Linked DNA regions of Homo sapiens: region 1 is linked to region 2. Evidence: promoter capture Hi-C in human tissues and cell types (Jung and others, 2019). All regions are on one chromosome and are shown on one strand. The core of a region is centred on a gene start or on the middle of the fragment in contact, and the rest is flanking DNA. Distances in the headings are between cores, read along the strand shown. Region 1 overlaps SPIN1 (spindlin 1). Region 2 holds the start of S1PR3 (sphingosine-1-phosphate receptor 3).

Region 1 (5,249 bases), core at 2,459-4,958, 520 kb after region 2:
GTAGCTGGGATTACAGGTGCCTGCCACCACACCTGGCTAATTTTTAGTAGAGACAGGGTTTCCCCGTGCTGCCCAGGCTGGTCTCGAACTCCTGACCTCGTGATCCACCCGCCTTGGCCTCCCAAAGTACTGGGATTACAGGTGTGAGCCACCGCGCAACAAGGATGCCAAAACCATTCAATGGGGGAAAGAATAGTCTTTTCAAAATATGGTGCTTGGACAACTAGATAGGCAGTCACAAGCAAAAAAAAATGAAGTTGGACCCTTAACTTGAACCACAAACAAAAATTAACTTGAAAATGCATCAAAGATCTCTAAGTAAGAGCTATAATTATAAAACTCTTATAAGAAAACGAGGGTAAATCTTTATGACCTCAGATTTGGCAAAAGATTCTTAGGACACAAAAAGCATACTCAGCAAGAGAAAACATAACTCGGACTTCAGAGTTTAAAACTTTTGTGCAAAGATCATCATCAAGAAAGTAAAAACAGCCCATGGAATAGGAGAAAACATTTGCAACATATATCTGATAAAGGTCTTGTATTTAAAAAATTGTCACAATGCAATAATGAAAGACAGATAATTCAATTTAAAAATAGGCAGGGGATATGAATAGACATTTCACCACAGATGATATTAAAAGGGCCAATAGGCCGGGCATGGTGGCTCATGTCTGTAATCCCGGCCCTTTGGGAGGCCAAGGCAGGTGGATCCTTTGAGGTCAGGAGTTCAAGAGGAGCCCGGCCAATATGGTGAAACCCCATCTCCACTAAAAATACAAAAATTAGAAGACATGGTGGCACGCGCCTATAGTCCCAGCTACTGGGGAGGCTGAGGCAGGAGAATGGCTTGAACCCAGTAGGCGGAGGCTGCAGTAAGCTGAGATCACGCCAATGCACTCCAGCCTGGGCGACAGAGCAAGACTCTGTCTCAAAAAAAAAAAGGGGGGGGGCCAATAAGCATATGAAAGATGCTTAACATCATTACTCATCAGGGAAATGCAAATCAAAGCCACAATGAGATACCACTTCACATCCACTAGGATGGCCAGAATCAAAGTAACAGTAACAGTTGGTGAGAATGTGGAGAAATCAGAAGTCTCATACACTGCTGTTGGAAATGTAAAGTGGTATTTCCGTTTTTAAAATTAGCCTGGCAGTTCCCCCAAACGATTAAACATAGAGTTACCATTATGACCCAGCAACTCCACTCCTAGGTATATACCCAAAGGAAATAAAACATGTCCACACAGAAACTTGTACAAAAATGTTTACAGCAGCATTATTCATAATAACCAAGAGGTGGGGAAACAACTCAGATGTGCTTTACTGGATGAATGGCTAATCAAAATGTAGTATATCCATACAATGGAATCGTATTTGGCCATTAAAAGGAATGAAGTACTGATATATGCTACAGCGTGAATGAAATCTCAAAATATGCTAAGGGAAAGAAGCTAGCACAAAGGACCTCACACCATATAGTCCATTCATATGAATGTCCACAACAGGGAAATTTACACAGCAAGTATTACTGGTTGCTTAAGGCCAGGGGGTTCGAAGAATAAAGGACTGACAGCTAACAGATACAAAGTTTTCTTTTGAGGTGATGACAATGTTCTAAAATCGACTGTGGTGAGGACTGTACATATCTGTGCGTATATTAAAAAGTACAGAAATGCACATTTTAAATGGACTAACTATATGGACTAACATGGTCGTAATGGCTCACACCTGTAATCCTAACACTTGTGGGAGGCCAAGGCTGGTGGACTACCTGAGCTCAAGTGTTTGAGACCACCTTGGCCAACATGGTGAAACCCCATCTCTAAAATATAAAACAAAACAAACAAACAAACAAAAATTAACCAGGTGTGGCGGTGGGTGCCTGCAGTCCCAGCCACTTGGGAGGCTGGGGCAGAAGACTCGCTTGAGCGTGGGAGGCGGAGGTTGCAGTGAGCCAAGACCACACCATTACACTCCAGCCCAGCCTGAGCAACAGAGCAAGACTCTGTCCAAAAACAAAAACCACAATAAAGGTTTTCTAGGCCTAATGAAATTAGCCCAGGTCACATCCTCTTCTACCTTACCTGTGTGAACAGACTAGTTGTGGAAATAGCTAAATCACCTGTCTAAACACTGACTCTGTACTCCACTTGCTACTGAAAAGTTAGCAGTCAATCGTTTTCTGAAATTGATGTTCTCTAAATCAGGAGTCCCAGACACCTGGGGCCACGCCGCACAGCAGGAGGTGAGCAGCGGCAAAGAGAGCACTGCCGTCTGAGCTCTGCCTCCTGTCAGATCAGCAGAGGCATCAGATTCTCACAGGAGCACAAACCTTATTGTGAACTACGCATGTGAAGAATCTAAGTTGTGTGTTCCTTATGGGAATCTAATGCCTCCAAAACCACCATATCCACACCCAACCCCCAATCCACAGAAAACTGTCTTCCATGAAACTGGTCCCCGGTGACAAAAAGGCTGAAGATCGCTGCTCTGAAGTTCAAGTATTTACAGATGAAATAATCAATGTCTTGGGATTAGATTCAAAATAATTGCACTGGGGGGACTAACAGATAAAACTAGACAGGCGATGAGATAACTGTTAAAGCTGAGCAGGGTACACGGGGACGTATTTTACTGATCCCTATTCCATCATGTTTTTAAATAAAAGCAAGAAGTAATATGTAGTAGTGTTAATAATTATAAAACAACTTGTATCTTATTACAGAAGCCAAGCAGAACTGACTATCAAATATTTTCTTATCTAACATTTATAACAACTGGATGAAAAATTTCAAAGGCTGTGTTTGTGCATGACTAAAAGAATCATATATCCAAAAATAAAAATGTATCTGCAAAAGAGCCAATCAAATATCTTGTACTGAAGTCCAAATCCCTTCTAATTATCACATATAAAAGTTGCCAATATATACTTACTGGAATCAGGCATAATGCGAAGGTCGCCTTCTTTGTAATCATCTAAGAGTTGGTACATGTACAAGACAGGGTCTTTCTCATAGGTAATGTAAAACCATGTGTTCATGACAGGTGCACGTGCTAAGACCATTCCCCTCCACTCATCTTTAGAACCATCCTCTGTCTCAAACATATGTTCCACTGCTTTGCCAATCATTGTGTCTGCCAAGTGTGCATCGCTGATTCGAGATGTCGCTGGGGATTAAAAAAAAAAAAAAAAAGTTGACAAAGTGTTTCGCTGATTACCGACTATGAAGACTGAATTTACTAAAGAAGGCTACACCTGAAATTTTGTCCATGCAACGTATTAGCAAGCATCAGAATCTGGGAAAGCTTTAAAAAGTACAAAAACCAAAGACAAACTACTGGGCCCCAGCTCAGAGATGGATTCAACAGAATAGAAGTATTTTGTCCCAAGTCAGTTAATTGAAAAAAATATGATTTTTTATTTTTCTGGACTCATCTGCTCTTGGTTCTGTACCCAAATCAAAAGTTTTAATTGTTCATTCAAGGTATAAAATACTGTTTGTTATTGTTTACTTAACAGTTAAATTTTGAGATAATTTCAGACTTACAGAAGAACTGGAAAAATAGTAGAGTTCCTGTATACGGTTCACTTTGCTTCTCCTGTATTAGCATCTTACATAACCACAGAACGTTTATTTAAAACTTAGAAAAGCTATTCAAGGCACAGAGGGTTTTTTTTTTGTTTTTTTTTTTTAAAGAAATTGGTGTTTGTTTTCCTTCAGTCTTATTTCCATTTTTTTATTAAGGCATAGGTTTTTACTCTCTTGCTCCTACAATCTTATTCTTCACTGCAACCAAAGTAATCGTTGTGTCACTGATACCACATTGTGTGATCTAAAATGTTCCCATGCCTTCCCTTTATAATTTGAAAAACAACCAAACTGCTCACCATAGCCCCCAAGCCCTAAAAGCCTTCACGCCTCTGCCCTCAGGTTTCCCATCTTCCTCCTTGTTGTTCATGCGTTCTCTACTCTGCTCTTCTTCCTCTCCCATTAGGACACACTCTCCTCTGCCTGATAAGCTCTTCCCCATACCTTCAGAAGGCCGGTTCCTTTTGGAGTTCTCCTGACCAACAAGGTAGCCCCACAAATCCCAGTCACATTACCCAATTTTACCTCTTAATAACATTCACCATGATCTAAAGTTATCCCACTTTATGTTATTTGTGTACTTGTTAGTTGCTTGTACATCCCCATGAAAGCAGAGACCTTCCCTTTCTTGTTTTATACCTAGATCATAGCAGGTCAGTATTTGTATGATTTAATCAGATACCCCATGTGGTTGGGAGCTCAGGTCTCTGAAATGATAGATTAACGGTCCTAGCCCTTAATATTTTTCAAAAGTGGTGAAAATTATCACCTTCATCTTTTTAATACTGGAAAAACTATGAAGGATCCCATTGGTTTTAAGACTTCTCCAGTCCACAATTTTAGATAACTGTCTTTATACCAAATTTAAACAATTATCTTTAAAAAACAAACAAACAAACAAACAAACAATTAGAGACAAGCACGGTGGCTCACGCCTGTAATCCTAGCACTTTGGGAGTCCAAGGCGGGCGAATCACTTGAGCCCAGAAGTTTGAGGCCAGCCTGGGCAACATGACAAAACCCCGTCTCTACTAAAAATACAAAAAATTAGCCAGGTGTGGCAGTGCAGGCCTGTAGTCCCAGCTACTGAGAAGGCTCAGGTGGTGAATCACCTAAACCCAGAGGTCGAGGCTGCAGTGAGACAAGATGGCGCCACTGCACTCCAGCCTGGGCTACGGGAGTGAGGCCCTGTCTTAACAACAACAAAAACAACAACAACAAACAATTAGCTCTCCTATTTTCCTCATTCAACAAACTTCTATTTCTGTTACATCAAAAGAAACAAAAAAGTGAGATTTTCTTGATACATGTATTGCTATTTAATTTTATCAGCAAACCCTAAACATGTATGGCTGGTTTTAAGTACGCAGTAATAATAAAAAATTACACAGAATTCCCCCCGTGTATGACAGTAAAAAAACCCCACTAGTTTCTTAAAGCCAGTAGATCTCAGACTTAGATCTCAGAACTCCATGTGCATTCTTAAAAATTACTGGCTGGGCACAGCGACTCACATCTATAATCCTAGCACTTTGAGCCCCAGGCAGGAGGATTGCTTGAGGCCAGGAGTTTGAGACCAGCCTGGGCAACATAATGAGATCTCATCTCTACAAAAAGTTAAAAATTAGCAGGGTACTGTGGTGAGTGCCTGTA
Region 2 (5,404 bases), core at 515-3,014:
TCCAGAAAGAGGAAACCAGTTCCTGAATTTTGAGAAATAAGATCCTTCGGCCACTATGTGAAGTTTCTTCTATAGGAAACTGTAGTCTCTACCCTTTGTATATGGTAGAAAATCAGAGACTCATGCATTTGAATAAAAATCACAATGATAAAGGGAGAAATGGCACTTTCAAAGATGAAAACTGGTTGAGAAATCATTCTCTCTAAATCTTAGGGGGAGGCTCTTAAGGGCTAGCTTCAGTTTGTATCTCTGGTGTTAGGTGATGGAAGTGATTTCAGAGGCCCAAAGTGAGTGCTTACTGGTTTGCTAATGAAAAAAGCCTGACGTGCGGTTCTTCTTCTATGGCAACAAAGTTATTCAACCTAGCATTAAGGTCTGCATCCATGAAATAATACTTTACAGATATGAACACTTCCACAACTCCTCAAGCGCACACACACACACACACACACATGCCCCGCACCATCACCACCTCCTCAACCAACACCAGCCCTGGGCATGGCCAGCTATCCTTGTTAGTCATGTATCTGCAGAGCATAATCCTTCCCTTGTACTTTCTAGGAATTATATTTTTCTTAACTATGCCTGCAAGATTTTCATCTATGAATAAAAAACATTGAAAAGATAAATTATGAATATGTGGTTATATACAAAGTCTGTGACTTCTAATGTCCAGATTTTAGAATGATGCCTAATTCTGGAGGTCTCAGAGGTCCAAGTGGGAGTGGGTACCATGAATGGGGGGGCCTCCATTTAAAAGTAACCTTCTAAAGAGCTCTCTGTTCCTGTAGCTCCCCTTTCCTTATTGGAAGGGTCAAAACGAAGTGTGTTCCCTTAAAAATCCAACAAGAAGTTCCTCTCTTATATCCAAATATAAAAACACCACAAAGAAATATACCATTGGGAGTGTCCAAAGCCAGAAAGTCAGAGGAAGAGAGAGAGAGAGAGAGAGAGAGAGACTGACTATTGGGAGACTCAAAAAGCCCAAAGCCCCTTCTCTAGCTGTTATCTCAGTTACGAACACAACGTACTGATTTTCCGTGGGAACCTCATTATTGCACTGTGGGGACTTCGTCTTCCAGCACCGATTCTGACGGCCCTAATTGCCTTGTTTGAGAAATGTTAGGAAAAAACTAATTTTCCGGCGAATATTGTTTAAAAGAATGATTTTCCCAGGCTAACGACCACAACCCTCTCCCACGTCCAGCATCCCCAGGCCCTGGCACTGTGGAAGCCTAACTTGTTAATTGTCCAAGGAAAACGACTGATGGAACTTCTCCACGAACAGCCTCTCCACTTTCATCCAGGTATTCAGCTCCAGCCCGTTGTAAACGCTCCGGGTGCGGTGGAAAAGGCCTCCTCCCTGTTCCTGCAGCGGCTCTGGGGGAGGGGTGCTGATGTGGAGCGCTCCGGCCGCCGTGGCGCGCCCAAGTCCCCGTCGCGCCCGGGATCGGTGGGGATTTTGTTGGAAAGGTGGGTCCTTCGGCCCCCAGCCCCCCACCCTGGTTCCGCGCCCCGCCCGGGCCCGCCTCTCACCTCCGTCGGCTGAGGGCGCTGGGGCCACCGGCATCCTAGCGGGTGGCGCGCGGCGGTGCCGGGGCGCCCGGTCCTGCGCTCGAATGCCAGATGGGCTGGGAGGCCCGGCAGTCTCAGCGCTCGCGACGTCGTTCCCGGGCCTGGGGTCCTGCTCGGTCGCGTCCTGCAGCCGCCTTCTGGTCCCTGAGTCCCTGTTGCCCGTCCCCGGAACCGGCTTCCTCGGCCTCTGCCCGAGCGAGTCAGAGACTAAACTTTTCCAGCGGCCCGCCGGGGCGGGACCCGCGCTCCGCCCCTCCCCTCGCCGCCCCCGACTCCCGCCCCTCTCCCCGCCCCCCTCTCCCCGTCCCCCGCCCGCGAACCCGGCACTCCTCCAGCTCCCCACCTCCCGCTCAAGCCGCCTGGTCTCCGTGCGCCCCGCCCGCCCCTAGCCTGGACCCCTTCTCCCCGACCCTACCAATCCCCTAGGGTCCGGCTCGCCCTTCGGCCCCTGTTCCCAGGCCGGCCTCCAGACCTTGTCCTCATCGGGCGAGCTCCAGGTGCAGAAACCGGGCGCCCAGAGACCCAGCGGGAACAGGCTTGGAACCAGGTCCGAGGTCTGGGCTTGGGCGGGCGCCTGTCGCCCTGACAGCGAGGGTTTGTTTGGGCCGATTCTTAATAGGAGGATTAATACTATCATTATCGTTGTCCAGATCCTGACCATTTCTTTTGTAACTGGCCGAGCACCGGCTTGGGCTTGCAGGTGGGCGCCTGGCGCCGGACAGCGTTTTTGTTTGGGCTTCTTCCTTTTCCGCGCGGGTCCCCTCCGGCGCCTGCCTGGTCCCTCTCCGCGCTCTACCCCCAGGCACGCAGAGACTTGGGCTCCAGGCGGGGGCAGCACTCTCCCCCAGCCTCTGCTGGTGCACCAGAGCCCACTCCGGCACAGAGCAGCGCCCCTCCTAGACCGGCAGCCAGCAGATCTCAGCCGACCCCCATGCGACCCCCTTCCTCACGCGGATTTGCCCCTTTTGTGTGGCAAAAATAATAATAATAATAATAAATCCATATGAAGGCTTCAAACAGAATTCCGAGAGAAGGAACTGCCAAATTTTCAATCAATGCCAAAGGCCATGATTGAGCGAACACAGAAACAACTGTAGAAGCTTGGGGAGAAAGGAGAAAATTAAAGAAAAAGGAGGAGGAGGAAAAGGAGAGAGGAGAGAAGCGGGAGGAAGAAGACGAAAAAGCAAGGAGAGGCCTGTTATCCGACCGTGCATTCCTGGGCCGGCAGGATTGGGCCGCAGGGGCCGCTGCAGAGAGTTGAGTTTGTGCAAAGGCCGCTCGTTACTTTCTGTCTTTTGCCCTCTTGCCTCCAGAGGATCAGCCCAGCGCATCCTTCTCTTGGAGCAGGGTGCATACGCTTATTTGGGGTGCAGTTTGAGCGGTGAAGGGCACCAAGAGTGGAAGTCGGCGGCACTCCTGTTCCCTGCAGAGAAACGCAAGCCCTCAGCAATTGAGCTGAAGGAGGCAAGTGACTCTGCCTGCTGAGGCTGCCAGCCCTAGAGGCTCTGGCCCCCGGGAGCTGGGGTACTTCCCAGCGTTTTCGCCTAAGCCACTTCGCCTGTGCTACTGTGGAGTCTTCCGGCACTGTAGCCTTCCAACTTGTTCAAAGTGCCTGGTGCACGGCTCTGAGAAGCCACTTCTGTCCCAAGTTTCATGTGGGCCTGAATGTGCTTCCCTTTGTTGGACTCCTACAGCATCAAGTCAAGAAAAGAAGGAAACATGCTCCTTTGGCATTGGTCACAACCAGGATAACAATACAGCATACTGTGGCCACTGTGTCTATATTACCAAAGTGGTCAGTAGGTTCATCACACCTCTGTTCAATTAGTTGCTTCCCGTGATGAAAAATTTACTGCTAGGATACTGGCTGAGGGTTGTTTTAAGGGGCACCCAAGTCTCCGTTCCTAGAGAAAGTCAGTTACCCTGATATAACAGAGCAACCTTGAGGCGTGGTGATGCCTCCAAAACTAGTCTGCGGAATCGGAGCCCAGAAGCCCTGAGGAGTAATGTGGCTCTCATGCTTTATGGCAGGTTTCCCTAAGAGAGACCCAGGATCTGACCCATGGCATCACTGAAATTCCTCTTTCAGTGAGGCTCCGTTTGCCTAAAGATCCCTGTCCTCAGTGGGTCTCCCCACACACGGGCCTCTCACTCACCCACTGCCCCACCCCCATCTGCTGCCCTCTTCCTGGGCCTTAAAGCTCAGACACTAGACTCTGACAAGGAGCCCTCCATGCCCCGGTAGAGACCATCTTCTCTCACCACTCCTTTTGAGAGAAACAGCCCTCCCTACAATTCTGTTGAATAAGTCTCCTCCTCTGCATCCTGTTTCACAAGTGAAAGCAGTTTAACAGAAGAATGCCAGCTCATAAACGTAGAAATGCGAGAATGAGGAAATCCCCATTCTGTAACCCTTAATGAAATAATTAAATCAGGCAGTGTGCACTAGTGGGTGTCAAACCCTTAGGTGAAAGTGTGCAGGCGAACGGGTGCTAATTGGAAAAAAAAAAGAAAAAGGTTTTCCATTTTCCATTTTTTTATGGAGACATCTGGCTGTACCTTACAGGAAGATCAAACTCAGTGTCACTAATACTGGCTCAACCTGGCATTATGTGATGCAAAAGAAACACACAACATCATTGTTGCTGTGTGCTTGCCAAAGATGCTTCAATTGAATCAATTGCAAAGCCTCTAGACTTTACTGCAAGTTTACAGGAAATGGAAGAGTTTGAGCCATGAGTTAAATGACACCATGGGAAAAACTGGACTACCAGAGTGTGGGCATTCTGCAGTCCTGAGCTCTTCCAAAAAAAATCAATGTCAAGAAAAAGGGGTGAAGGATTCTTCTGGTATAAGAACAGCTGAAAAGAAGAAGTATAACAATAAGTACAAATCCGGATTGACTCCCAGCTGGACAAATCAGCACACACACACGCACACAAAAACATTTTGGAGGAAATTACAAATTGGAGGGGATATTGACTGATAGTATAGAATTATTGTTAATGTTTTTAGGTGTGATAATGGCATAATGTTTGTTTAGGAGAATGGCTTTAATTTTAGGAGGTGCTGCTGAAGTATTAAAGGGTAAAATGTCTTCATGTCTAAAACTTATTTTAAATTGTTCAGCACAGTACGTGCACATAAGCTGATATGACAAAAGGTTGGTGATTATTGGTTCTACGTGGTGGATTTAGGGAAGGGGTTGTACAATCTGTTCTCCTTCTTTGTATCTTTGAACTTTTTCCATAATAAAAAGTTGGAGAAAAATAAAATGGCAGGTACTAAACAACTAAAAAATTTCTCTACCTTTGCGCTTAGACTTTAAATCAAATCTAGGCTTATGGGAATAAAATTGAAAGATACTATGAGTTATATCTGTATACTTTTGAAAATCATGTGGCCCCAAACTTAAATATGATTTGAATAAATGTATTATATATCACAATTATGTAATATAACCTTACATGCTTTTTTAATTAAAAAAATGAAATATATTCACTTTCCCAACAATTTAGTGTCCACAGCCTGGTGAGCAGGTACAGTGTGGTTAAAGGACATGCAGTTTTAAGATTCAAACTCAAAGTGAGCCCTTTCTCCAGCAGAACGAGTGCACCGCAGGAGAGCAGAATTGTCTCAGAAGAGCTGAGTAAATGCACCTCCTTTCTCGGTCCCCTCTGCCCTCCCAGCATCTGCTTCCAGGATCCCAGGGTGCCTCCCCAAGTTTCTGGGTCTGAGTTAATCTGCACTATCTCTACTCTTAGCTCTGTTTAGCGTAAAGGCTGCAACAGACAGTCATTATCTGAGTAAATGTGCATGCATGATATTT

The links. Contacts are between HindIII fragments. The study calls those that stand out against the background at their distance.
Region 1: a fragment that was not itself captured here is called in contact with the fragment with the promoter of S1PR3 in region 2 in 2 of the 25 tissues and cell types used here (dorsolateral prefrontal cortex and spleen).

What each region holds. Positions count from the first base shown.
Region 1 is chr9:88,466,297-88,471,545 of GRCh38, reverse strand. It overlaps SPIN1 (spindlin 1), which reads right to left. Exons shown (of 6, transcript NM_006717.3): 5 at 2,941-3,174. Among named protein-coding and RNA genes, the nearest start is that of NXNL2, 66 kb to the left of the region's middle. The HindIII fragment of the contact is 5,445 bases long and covers 986-5,249 here.
Region 2 is chr9:88,987,828-88,993,231 of GRCh38, reverse strand. It overlaps S1PR3 (sphingosine-1-phosphate receptor 3), which reads right to left and starts at 1,764. Exons shown (of 2, transcript NM_005226.4): 1 at 1,537-1,764. RefSeq lists a silencer at 1,924-2,218. The HindIII fragment of the contact is 13,055 bases long and covers 1-4,529 here.